Linked DNA regions of Homo sapiens: regions 2, 3 and 4 are each linked to region 1. The links are contacts of gene promoters, found by promoter capture Hi-C in blood cells and fetal thymus (Javierre and others, 2016). All regions are on one chromosome and are shown on one strand. The core of a region is centred on a gene start or on the middle of the fragment in contact, and the rest is flanking DNA. Distances in the headings are between cores, read along the strand shown.

What was found. Contacts are between HindIII fragments. The CHiCAGO score rates a contact against its expected background, and 5 or more counts as called.
Region 2: a fragment that was not itself captured here is called in contact with the fragment with the promoter of SPATA19 in region 1 in 2 of 17 cell types (M2 macrophages and megakaryocytes); the score reaches 6.9 in M2 macrophages.
Region 3: a contact is called between a fragment that was not itself captured here and the fragment with the promoter of SPATA19 in region 1, in 1 of 17 cell types (M2 macrophages). The highest score is 5.3, in M2 macrophages.
Region 4: a contact is called between a fragment that was not itself captured here and the fragment with the promoter of SPATA19 in region 1, in 3 of 17 cell types (M2 macrophages, endothelial precursors and monocytes). The highest score is 9.3, in M2 macrophages.

Annotation. Positions count from the first base shown.
Region 1 is chr11:133,843,789-133,846,903 of GRCh38, reverse strand. SPATA19 (spermatogenesis associated 19) reads left to right here and starts at 1,391. Exons shown (of 7, transcript NM_174927.3): 1 at 1,391-1,535; 2 at 1,714-1,770; 3 at 2,264-2,395; 4 at 2,567-2,658. The coding sequence starts at 1,458. The HindIII fragment of the contact is 7,074 bases long and covers 1-3,115 here.
Region 2 is chr11:133,067,415-133,070,555 of GRCh38, reverse strand. All of the region lies in intron 1 of OPCML (opioid binding protein/cell adhesion molecule like), which reads left to right. Among named protein-coding and RNA genes, the nearest start is that of OPCML-IT1, 300 kb to the left of the region's middle. The HindIII fragment of the contact is 2,337 bases long and covers 513-2,849 here.
Region 3 is chr11:133,035,883-133,038,931 of GRCh38, reverse strand. All of the region lies in intron 1 of OPCML (opioid binding protein/cell adhesion molecule like), which reads left to right. Among named protein-coding and RNA genes, the nearest start is that of OPCML-IT1, 330 kb to the left of the region's middle. The HindIII fragment of the contact is 7,417 bases long and covers 1-3,049 here.
Region 4 is chr11:133,102,409-133,105,557 of GRCh38, reverse strand. The region is part of intron 1 of OPCML (opioid binding protein/cell adhesion molecule like); the gene reads left to right. Among named protein-coding and RNA genes, the nearest start is that of OPCML-IT1, 260 kb to the left of the region's middle. The HindIII fragment of the contact is 627 bases long and covers 1,324-1,950 here.

The DNA of each region.
Region 1 (3,115 bases), core at 142-2,641:
ACAGAGATGTTGACAGGTAATTTCATCTGCTATTTTACAATTTCCAGTCTTCCTTGGAATTAGGTAGGGGCCATAGGACTAGTTCTAGATCAAAAGCTCTAAGTAGGAGCCTCTGAGCTGAAAGGTGGAACACTGACCTGATTCCTCTCTGTGCTCTCTTCCCTGCTTTGGCAGTCATGGAGGTCGTGTCCTCTGAATGTGGACCTGTGAGTCTCCACATGGCACACAATTGCTCTGAAATTACCCAACTTGCACGAGAGCTTTTGAGAGTGAGAAATAAACATTTTGATTTGGAGGTTGGTTTGTTGCCTCAGTCCTCAGCAGAGCCTAGCCGATTCTGACTATGTCAGGGATGATATAAAATTGAGGCGAATTGTTGAGAGGGAAGACGTGTAGTGGCTGTATCAGGGGAATTGGAGAAAGTGATAAAAGGTTTTCTATAATCCTGAGAAGAATAAACGTGGGAAAATTTTTGGAATATTAGAGTTAGAAGAAAGCTAGGGACACAACTCTATCCCTTTCAGTATAAGACAAAGAAACTCAGACCAGAGGGACTAATGATTAGGTCAAGAGCACATGACAAGTTGTTGCGGGACAGGTTGTTACTGGTGGAGGGTGTTCAGGTTCTTGGCGTCTTAAACAAAGAAATGGACAAAACACACAAACGAAGGAAAGAATGAAGTAACAAAGGCAGAGATTTAACGAAAATAAAAGTACACTCCACAGGATGGGAGCAGACTGGTTACAGAATTTTCTGGGGTTTAAATACCCTCTAGGGGTTTCCCATTGGTTACTTGGTATATACCCTATGTAAATGAAGTAGTGGCTCATGATCAGTCTGATTGGTTGCGGAAAGTGACCAATCAGAGGCTGAAGTGAAGTTATAAAGTTATATCTCTATGCAAATGAAGACCTGGCCCACAACCAGCCTGATTGTGGGAGGGGAGCAATCAGAGATACTTTCAGTTTTTCATCTGCCATGCAGAAAAGGAGAGGGTTGCAAAGGGCGTAGCCTCTGGTCTTTTTGTTACTTGGGCACGGAAAGTTGGGGTTTTCCTTTTGATTTAGTTCTAGGAAGTCAGTGTAAATCGGCCTTAGGTTTCCTGGCTCCAGACCCCATCCTCCTGCCTGGAGGTGAGCTCCCAAATTAGTGCTTTCCCAAGAAAAGAATTCAAGGGTCAGCCAATGGTGTTAGACAGCAATCTTTTATTCAATGGTTCTGCTCCTTGAAGCAGGGTAACTCATAGGAGTGCACCCAGAGCCTGAAATGCAGGGGCTCTTGGCAACGGCATTTATACTCACATACATCATTTTCAAAGGGAGGCCATTGTCACATCACCATGGGTCAGCCAATCAGGTGGACACCTCCCTTCAATGACCTTCCTGTCCCATAGGAGTTCTCAGGCAGCTTCAATGGAAGGAGGGAGCCAAGAAGGGGGCCTGGTATACATTCAAAGATGATAATTACGACATGGATTGTGTATATTCTTGCTCGGAAAGGTGTAGGGCTTCCCTTCCTACCAATAACCAGTTCGGTAAGCAGCTTGGTGGTAGTCACATGGAATAATTTTTCATATATCTTCTCCCCCTGTGGGACCCTGCTGCACTTCATAGAGATCTTACAAATAAATTTGAGTAACAGTTGCGGGGGCTGGGTGGGAAGAGCTGAATTTCTAGGTTTTCTGAGGTCACCAACTTGCCAATTTGTTCCAGGACATTGACGTTGTGGAAAGTGAGGCTGTGTCTGTACTACATCATTGGTTGAAAAAAGTGAGTAAGATTTCTTTATGACTCAGGATATCCAAAATGCTAGAGAAGTGGTCTCAGTGGGTGTGGGGATCTGGACTTCCTTCTTCATGGAACTGGAACTCAAGTTCATTGCCAGACACCCTTCCTAGATTTGAGTCTAATTTCTTCACATGTGCTGGAGGACACTGTGGCTTGTGTCCTGGCAGGAAATGTGTTAGCACCACCACTAACGCCGTCCTGCTTCTCAAGCATCCTGGCTTAAGGGTTTCAGCTGCATCCTTCCCAGCTCAAGGGTGTCTCAGGAACACCTTGGGATAGGGCCAGGGACTTAGGGAGTTCTGAGGACTTTACAGGGAAGTAGCTTATTGTGGGAACAGTGAGGTAAGGAGTGTATGTGTGTGAATATGTGGTGTGTGAGTTGTGATGGAGAATGAATAAAAGGAAAGGAAGAGGAGAAGAAGACCCAGGGTTGGATGCAGAGTGACATTTTCAGAGGGAATTTCTCACCTTTCAGACAGAAGAAGAGGCTTCTCGGGGCATAAAGGAAAAGCTGTCCATCAACCACCCTTCCCAGGGTGTAAGGGAGAAGATGTCCACTGACTCCCCTCCCACCCATGGCCAGGACATCCACGTGACCAGAGATGTGGTAAATGAGAGTTTGAGACCTTGCCTGGGAGTAGCGGTGAGGGAGAGGGGAGAGGTGGGAGGTGCACCGTAAATGATTCTGGGCAAGGGTGAGGTGCTCGTCTGGGCTCTGTGCCAGCCCAGTTGGGGGCCACACTGGGCAGGAATCACATGGACCCTCTGGATTTCCCAGGTGAAGCACCACCTCTCTAAGTCTGATTTGTTGGCAAACCAGAGCCAAGAGGTCCTAGAGGAGAGAACACGAATCCAGTTCATAAGATGGAGGTAAGGTGTCCCACTTGCCCTGGGCGAAGGAAGGGGAGGGAGAGATGCGCAAGCCCCTCTCTTCACGAACCCTCAGATGCTCTTCTCTAGAGATGTCGTCTTTGGCTGACAAATTCCTCAGCCTTGCTTTGGGGTCTTAAGGGAATATCCTTGCTATCTTGAAAGCCCAGCTCATTTCTACATTTTTAAATGACTTGAGGGGTTGGAAAACTGGGCTTGCACTCCATTTCTTAAATGCTTCTGAATACATTTCAGATTTCTGTTATTTTTGCACTTGAGTTGCTCAGAAGTGGCTGCACTTTAAAGAGCTAAAAGAAAATAAGCTCTTAAAATGCAAAAGCCAAAGTTTTCATCTGCAACTGAGGTGTGGGGAGGCTTCCCAGCGCCCGAGGCTAGAATTCTGCACTCGGTTATGGTGGCTTCGCCAGCGTCCCGGGTGCCTGCCAGCTCACAGCCG
Region 2 (3,141 bases), core at 432-2,931, 780 kb after region 1:
GGAGTGAGGGCTTGTAGCCAGTCCCCTTCGTCCATAGGCAATAGAATTGTGGGCCCGCCTCTGGCCATCACATCCCTGGGTGGAAGTCAGCATTCACTTTCTCCCAGGCGATGCTGGGTAGAGATTATGAAATCTTGAGCCTAAATGGACCAGGGTGGGAGAATTTACCAACTAGCAGAAGGGCCAAGGGGGTTCCGGGAGCTTTAGACAGAACAGGGACAAGCAGTGAAGCACAGAAAATTGACATTGGAAGTTGCCTGTTTGAAAGACACGACAGCCTTTGCTTGCTGCAGAGCTAATTATTATGCAAATTTATGCTAATAAACTCTGCCTTGCATGTTGTTGAGAAGCTGCCTTTTCCCGTTAACATAGCTGTAATGAGAGGTAAATTTGTAATGCAGATGCCCGAGGTAATATATCCTAAATCACTTTATGGTGGAACGGACTCTCTTGCCCCACCCGACACAAATGCCAATTTAAATTAGTTTTTGCTTTGCATATTTATTGAAGCTTTATTTATTGTTAATATGTACTAAGGACACCAACTAGACAGCCCCCACTACTTGTTAGAAGTGGAATTTAGCAGGGAGCTGGGGATTGGCTTTTGCTCATCAGGAGATCCTAGAGTTTTTTCTTCTCCCACCTAGAGCCACAGCATCAGCTTGGATGGTGCCAGAATCGTTCATGTGTCCCCCTCCTCCTCTGAGCTGGCCTCAAATTAGGCTCGGCAATGAAAAAGCAATTCTATCATGATAATTATTATATGGCGTTTCTAAGAGTTAATGGTCTTTGTCACCTCTGCCTTTGTGTTTGTGATACCACCCAGGCTTGCAGAAACACGCCCAGGAAACGGGAGTGCTGTTGAGACAATGCCATTTGTCCACTTTGGAAACTTGTGCACACACACATGCTCTCACACACTCCTATACATGTTTTAGGGCACACATGTAGCTTCAAGCCCCATTTGCATTCACATTTGTGTAGTCGCACACACACGTTTGATAGTGTCTTACACATCATTCAGGGGTGTCTTCATTCAGGTTCGAACACACACAAATTGCCACTCGCCCCTGCACCCCAGCTATGGTCTTGTGTGTAACTGCAACTCTTCTGTGAATAGGAGAGCTTGGCACTTGGATTGGAAAAGTTCTTCCAAGCAATTCTGAGATGAACCTTCGAAAACAGCACTAAAACATGAGTAATTTTGTTTCTAGTTTGCATTCTGTCACTTAAATAAATAAATATAAATAAGTGCCTACCATGTATCAGGCATAATGTTAAGAATTTTCTTGCATGGTTTCATGGTTTCATTTTCACTTATAAATAGTTCAGTTTAGGTCTATATTATTATCCCCATTTTGGAGATGGGAAGACTGAGGCTCTGCAAGTTTAAATAACTTACTCAAGGTTAATCCACTTATTCCACATAGCAAGTAAAATTCAAGCGTTCTTTTTACTACACCGTTGCTTCTTCACTAATGTCTCAGTAAATCTGAGGTTGAGTTTCTTCTACAATTTAAGATGTTAGATCTGATCCATCTAGCTCCAAATTATGATGTTCTCTGATAATGTAAGTAACTCTCTCCTGATTCTGTTTGCCTCTTTGCATCTCTCACTGTGAACTAAGTTTAAGCTAGTCACTTGCTTTAGGATTTTCGACCGACGCCACCTACCTCTTTGGTATGTGTAGGTTTCTCCTAGGGCACCTTGACCCTTAACCATTTTGTCTGACACTAGTATGGAAAAAATGAATCTGTGAAGAACTGGGGCTAACCCAACCAAATAAGATGTCAAGCAGATGTGCTAACTTATGCATACACATATTCAGGGAATGCCAAAATATCCGTCTGCTGAAAAATATCTCCAGCATTTATGTGTCAAGGACCTAGAGTTTTCCTCATTAGTATAACTCCTTTGAACCCAGTTACCCTGACAGGCCCTCCTGTGAACATGTAAATTCACATTACATGAAGCAACATATCAACTGTTTGTGCCAGCTAATTCTCGAGCATGTGTTTTGTGCATACCAGAACCTAAACAGGGGAGCGATGAGAGAACAGAGCACATGAATTTTGATGAAGAATGTACTGGAAGAAGGGCAGCGTCCGCACTGCTCACAAGACAGGCTGAGAGCAGGCCTTCCCCTTTACCATTTGGGCATAGACCTCTGCTGGCAGAAATCTCCCATATGTAAATGAAATTCTAGTGAATGAGGATGTTCTTCTGATCTATTAAGGAAAAAAAGCAGAGTTTAAGGGCTTCTTCATCTCCCCATGGCCACACCCACTGTGCCCCAATTCTAAGCTCTATTCCCAATAAACCAGAATGCCTGGGATTCTACTTCAGAAGGGCAGAGTTTTGGCTTAAGGAAATAAGCTAGGCTGTGATACTGAGCCTGGAATAAAAATACCATCTGTCAGTATCAATCTTTGCTGCTTTAAAATAAATACGTTTATTAGATCAATTTTGGTTGGAACAGTGTGCTGAGAAGAGGCCTAAAAAGAAGCATATAAATAAATGCATTATTATTGTTAAAATTTAAAATAAAACATGAAAATACTTCAAGTATAGAGAAGAAAATAGCAATGATCCATAACTGCGCCCCCAAAGATAACCATCCTTCAGACCTCCCTAGATACCATGGGGCTGCCTTGCTAAAACTTTGCACAAATATATGATAAGCATTTTCCCCAGCGGAGGTAATTTTGAAAGGGAGGTTGGACAGCATTTTACTGTGGGAGTAGGCAGACCTGGGCATGAGCCATGTCAGGGTTGAGGGATGACATCCCTGATCCTGGGGGGAGAGGCGATGGCATAGGAAGGGCCAGTGAAAGAGGCAACAAGAAGCTTCAAGACACTAACTTCATCCACCTGGCCACTTTGCCCAGGTGGACTTTGGGCATCAGGAAGTGTTTTATGCCACTGAGTGAAGACATCTTCTCCCATTGGATGTGCTTATGCCTTGGTAAAATAAGAAAGCCAGGCTAGTGCAGCTCTAAAGTTCCCTTCAGCCTATGGTTTGTTCCCCTTGAAGGAGGAGTTGATGTTCTGCTTGCCCTGAGTCCTCTCAAGGATTCAGCCAGGGTTGAGCATGAGCTCCCTGATTCAGAAGTTCCTCATTTCAACCCCCAGAGGAGTCCC
Region 3 (3,049 bases), core at 412-2,911, 810 kb after region 1:
TGCAGGACGCTTTGTAGCTCTCAGTCTGGCACCCTTGCCAAGATCACAGAGACTTGGGGGAGGAGTTGTTTCAACCAAAAATGGCAGCAGGGTTTTTTTTTTTTTGGCAACATAGAGGCAACAGTGAGTCAGAAGAATAAGAGGGGGATCAACCCTATTACAACCAATTTTTGTTTTTTAAAATCTTGGCCTGAACTCACCTTAGACAGCAGAGAGTTGTGGGATCGTAACTCAGCCCTGCCACTTGCTAGCTGTGTGACCTTGGGATATGTACTTAACCTCTCTGTGCAGCAGTTTTATCATCTGTAATGGGGGATAATAATGATCCCTATAAAAGAGTTAAGTTATGCATTCTCTAATATCTCTGGGCTAGAGCCTGGCATTATATAATAACTCAATTTTAGTTGCCATTATTTAGGAAAAAAATTAAAATAATGAATCTTTTTATAATTGTCAATCAATATTAATTACCATGGTCTCCTGATAGTCATAGCCCATGTTGGCTAACCAACAACCTTGAGGCAGGGAATTTATTACTTTTCCCACATTTTATAGATAAAGAAACCAAAGCCTAAAGATGTTCTACAGGACTGTGAAAGGAAGGGTGAGGAAAAGCTAGGAGATGAGTGTCCCACCCGAGCTATAAGCAGCCCCAGAGAGACACTAAGACAGGAGCTGATTGGGACCAAAGGCATGGCCCACATGGCATGGCTGGGTGTGGGAAGGGACAGACAGGGCCAGCGCCCAGGGCTCCTAAGTCTGCACCCAGAGCTCTCCCCATGCACTCGGTTCCCAGGCATCCAGCCTTGCAGGCAGAAAGAGAGGTGGCCACCACCCTACTTGTAGAGATATGGGCCAAGAGTGGAAAGGTCTCTAAAATCCTTCTGCTAAAACTTGCAGTTTAACAAGTAGAGTGATTGCACATCCTCCTCCTAGTAGCATGCATTCATTTGATGCTTAGGAGACCAGCACACTGAGTCCAAGGGGACCCTAATCTCAAGGACTTGGCTCCAAACAGCCAGAAGGGGCAAGAGTGTGAGAGACGCTCAGTTAGGGTCACCCATTAAGATCAAAGGTTATCTTAATTCACACAAATTCTAACCATTTAAAGTCTTGGCCCTTTTTCTGCCTATGGAGAGTTTTATCCAGCATGGCACAGATGATGAGCTTGCTCTTCTTTGAAGGTAAGTGCTAATTGCAAGGTAACAGTGACCTTGCCAACGCAAGAGGGTGATGAGTCAAAGACAGCTGGGTTCCCTTCATTTTCTTCAGTAGGATCTGAATTTCCTACCCAGCAGCTGTGGATACCTAAAACTGACATTTGAGCTAAGTATAAATTTCACTCGCTCTCTAAAAAGGTGGCAAAATGATCTCATATATAGGAGCTTGCACTTTACACTCCAGTCTAGCTCCGAGTAAAATATACTGCAGCTAGGTTACAAGAAGACAATCTTAAATTTAGAACATTAGAGGTCATTCTGACCCACCTCCTACCCAATGCAATAATCCACTTTGAAAGACTCTGCAGATGGTCCTGCAGCCTCAACTTGAACGCTTCCAGTAACAGAGAGCTCAGTACCATGCAAGATAAAGAAAGTTTTGAGTACTTTTTTTCTTAAATTGAATCTAATCTTTGGTTTCTTATAACTCTTACGTATTGAGATTACTTCCCAGAATGATATAAGTCCTCATCCTCACAGTGGTGATCCGACTAACTTTGAAGTTAGCTCTATTGACCCAAATAAGTCTTGTCTTTTCATAGTGTTCATTTTCCATTGATTCAGCCATGGCTTTTGATTTTCAGCCTTTCACTATCCTCAATGCCCTCTTCTAGGGGACTGGATAGCCTGGTTTGTATGTTTTCGATTGGGACCATACAGTGTGGTCAGGCAGAGCCCTTTGTCATCTGAGCCAGGGTGGCCGGGAGAAACAGAACACTGTGGGGAGGGAGGACCAAGGTCATGGTCTTGGAGCTCCTGCAGAGCATCACAGAGGAACAAGCAAAGAAACAGGAGGGAGTGAAGTGCAGCAAATGGATTATGAAAGAGAAGGAGGAATAGATGTGGGACAACTGAAGATCTGGGTCTGTCCTCATGCCAATAAACCAGGCTGCCCTCCCATTCCCCACCTCACCATAAACTTAAGCTGCCAGTTCTTTTCTGAATGCAGAATGTAGTCCTGAATCAATGTCAACTTTGTAGTCTTGGATTATTTTTCTCAGAGATCAAAATATTTTTGAATCCTGATTCTGTCTTCTTGAACATTAACTATTTTTCTCAGCTTCATATGCTCTATAGAATACATTAGGTTGCATTCCAAATTCTTTACCAGGTCATTGTATAATACAACAGGGCCAAGTACAGAACCCTGAAGCACATTAGTGTGCTTGGCATGGTGTTTGATATGCTTTAATAGACCTATTGCAGTGTTTGATGATTGAATGTGGGTTAAGGAGGAAATAGCAATGTAAAAGAAATATGAGATCATCTAATTATAGCATGTGGGCATGTAAACAAATGCTAACAATAAAATTTAACATTTCTCTCACTAGACCGTGGAGAATCTTTTATTGATCTTTGCAATCTTAGCAGCTGAGCAGTGCCTGACACATAATAAGAATTTATTCCATATTTATTTTTACAAATGTACAAACACACATTCGCACCATCCTGGGAAAGAATTGGCATTAGGGAAGTTCTTAACTCGATACCATTGCACTTAAGCAGCAACCCTTTAAAGCAACCATCATTTGTTGTCCAGTAGCCACTTCTGGACACCAACTTTTCTTTTTATTTCACTTTGACATTTTAAGTAGACTTTAAAGTTTTAGTTTATCTAAATCTCAACTACTTTAAGAAAACCTGGTCTTCATGTTGATGTATTAGTTTGCTAGGGCTGCCTTAACAAAGTAATACAGGATGAGTGGCTTAAACATTAGATATTCACTTTCTCATAGTTTTGGGAACTAGAAATCCAAGATGAAGATGCTAGCAGGTTTGGTTTCTCCGAGGCCTCTCTTTTTGGCTTGCAGATGGCTTCTTGCGGTGTT
Region 4 (3,149 bases), core at 388-2,887, 740 kb after region 1:
CATCTCCATTTTCAGCCTACTTCTGAACCTTGGCAAGTCTCTCTAAGACAATTCCCTTACCTTTGATTTCTGCTCATTTCAATTCATCTGCCCACTGGCACTAAACAATGGTTCTCACATGCATCTATCATTCATGATTAAATCAACCTATACCTTTTCTTCATTTCCTGAACCTAGAAAATCTTTTTTTTGTATGATGTAATTATAAAAATCTTGTTTACACTGCATAACCTCGTTAATGAAGCCCTCAGCAACTACACTTAGTCTGAATAAGACTTTATCTGCCTTGAACTTTGAGCTTTATCGGCACCACAGGTACATAATTAATTGTTGTCTGAATTCCTTCAGATATGCATTTACCCCTGTATTTTAGCTCTAGGCCTTATATTTTATTTTTAGCCACCATCTCAGCAAGCGTAAAGTTTATTGAACACGCATAGTAGGTGAACAAACCTTTGATTATTTTTCCAGGCAATTCTCTAAACCATAAAGTTTAAGGATACATATCAAATTCTTAATGTGCCTAACAATTCATTATACATCTATAACACATAATTTGTACAAAATTATTTTGGCCTATTAATATTTTGCTTTATATTACATCTCAAGTTAGCTGGCATTAGTGGTTGAATTCTGACTGAGAGTGACCTTTATAGGAAAATTATTCCTACAGTTTTTGATCTTGAATTGGGCCTTAATATTTTTCACTCTAACTTGGTTGTGAACCATGATCCATTTAATTAAAATCCACTTTTAGATACAAAATAAATCAACAATCTGAAGGAAAGTGAAATGTCACATTCTTCAGCCCTCTCTGTTGAGTGCTCTGAATTTCTTCTTGAAGCATTTGCTGAAGGCATTTATAGGCCCTTTTCACCAGAAATAAAACCTAACACCAGCTGAGTCAGAATCAAGATTAGTTCAAATCTTGGACATGTTTTACTTTCAATGTTTTTCCATCTTAGCAGCACTCTGAGTTCATGTTTTAATTGCCATATGCATCCAGGATGTATACTTTCAAAGCATAGACAGGCAGAATGCCAAAACACCACAAAATGGAGAAATGCCCAAAAAATTGGGATGTATCGCTAAATAACTTGTTTTATAAAAATGTTCTTCTTTTTTTCCAGGTCCCTATGAATTTAGGGTAAGTTTACTCTCAGTAACTAAACATTTGGATGCTTGGGTGAGCTAGACTCTGAACTCCTTGAGGTTTGTGGCTCTCACTCATGCCTTTCGGTCTAATGAAGGGATGGGGAGGAATTTATGATGACTCTTCCGTACTCTGGACAGCTCCTGCTGCCTGCCTGCCATGGAAAAGCTTCATCAACAGATTGTTAATTTCCCTCCTTTCTCCCTGAATAGCATTATGCCTTCTGGCAGGAAGCACTGTGTTGCATCCATCCATGCGCTCTCACCTGTGGACATGTGGAGCTGTCTAATGGGCTCCTGCTTTTTGCCCCACTGGGCTGTGACTGAGCAGGGAGACAGAGCTGTACAAGTTGCTAATTGTCTCAGCCTGTAACTCTTGAATGATGAAAAAGATTAAAAGGGAAGGAAAACAGCTATTATATCTCTTTCCTGAAAAAACTTGCACTGTGAAAGGCTCATTAACATCATTAGTGTTCCATTAACCTCTAGCCAGACAAATAAGCTGGAGGTAATTTCGGAGCATGGGGAGAAAGAAAAAGAGAGAAAGGAATTTAAAAATTATCTGGGTGTAGGTGACATTTCCCAACTACCTCGATTGAACATTTGGACAGACACCAGCAACTTTACTTACTTTAATGCCAGCCTGGTACTGGAGGGTGGCCAGAACTCTGGCTGCTAGGAAGGCCTGTAGGTAATAGTGAGTGGGGAGATGCATTGATTGGGACAAAATGAAATTCATTTTTAACACAACAACACATGAAATCTTGCAAAGAAACACTGTGTGATACAATAGAAGCTTAAAAATGTCTACTGCAAAATTATGTTCCATTGTATGAACAAAAGGCTTTTCACCTTGTAATTTTTTCCTGTCACATTTTGTTTTATTCTAATCCACACCTCCATGCCTGGCCCTCGTTGTTTGATCCCCAGCCTCACTAACTCTGCTGCAACTCAGGAAGTTGAATGCAAAGCATTGTTCAGGCTATTGATCTTTAGGTTTCCTGGTATAGAGGGGGCACTTTTTTAGATGGGGACATATTTTAGATTTTATTTTTGATTTAATCTCAAAATACAACATGGATTTTGGTGACTCAGTTTTTCTTCCTATAAAAAGAAGACTCTATAAGTTTCCCAAGTATTCTGTGTGGAAACTAGTAGACGTGTAAAGGTTGATCAAATAGAATAAGTACTAAAACTATGGTTTACAATGATTTAATACAAGCCTAAGCAAATGCGTAAGTTAAAAATGTCTGTCTCAAAGTAGGAATCCCCAGATCACTATTAGAAAAAAAGTAATGTTGTGGTTTTGGTATTAATTTTTGATGTAAAATTGATTTTCATTGTGTCCCTTTTTTGGATTCAAGTATGAGAAGCTGACGACAACAGTCAAGGTAGCTTCAGAGGGATACTCTCCCCAGGAGCCACTGGTCATTCTCTTCCCCAGAGTGGAGATGCTGGCTTTCTGCTGAGAACCTGATACAGTTCCTAGGGCTCCACTCCCTTGCTTTATAGCCCATAGTCATAATTCTATCTCATTTAGAGAGATCTCAGATTTCACATCAACACAGACATACAATTTTGAATAGTCAAAATCAAATTTGGCATAGTTTTTTTTGTTGTTGTTGTTGTTTGTTTTTGTTTTGTTTTTGTGTTTTTGAGATGGAGTCTTGCTCTATCACCCAGGCTGGAGTGCAGTGGGGCGATCTCAGCTCACTGCAAGCTCCACCTCCCGGGTTCACTCCATTCTCCTGCCTCAGCCTCCTGAGTAGCTGGGACTACAGGCACCTGCCACCACGCCTGGTGAATTTTTTTTGTATTTTTTAGTAGAGAAGGGTTTCACCATGTTAGCTAGGATGGTCTTGATCTCCTGACCTCGTGATCCACCCACCTCGGCCTCCCAAAGTTCTGCGATTACAGGCATGAGCCACCGCCCCTGGCCAATTTGGCCTAGTTTTTGAGAATGCATTTCCCAGAATAGTAGATGTTTAAGAGCTTGT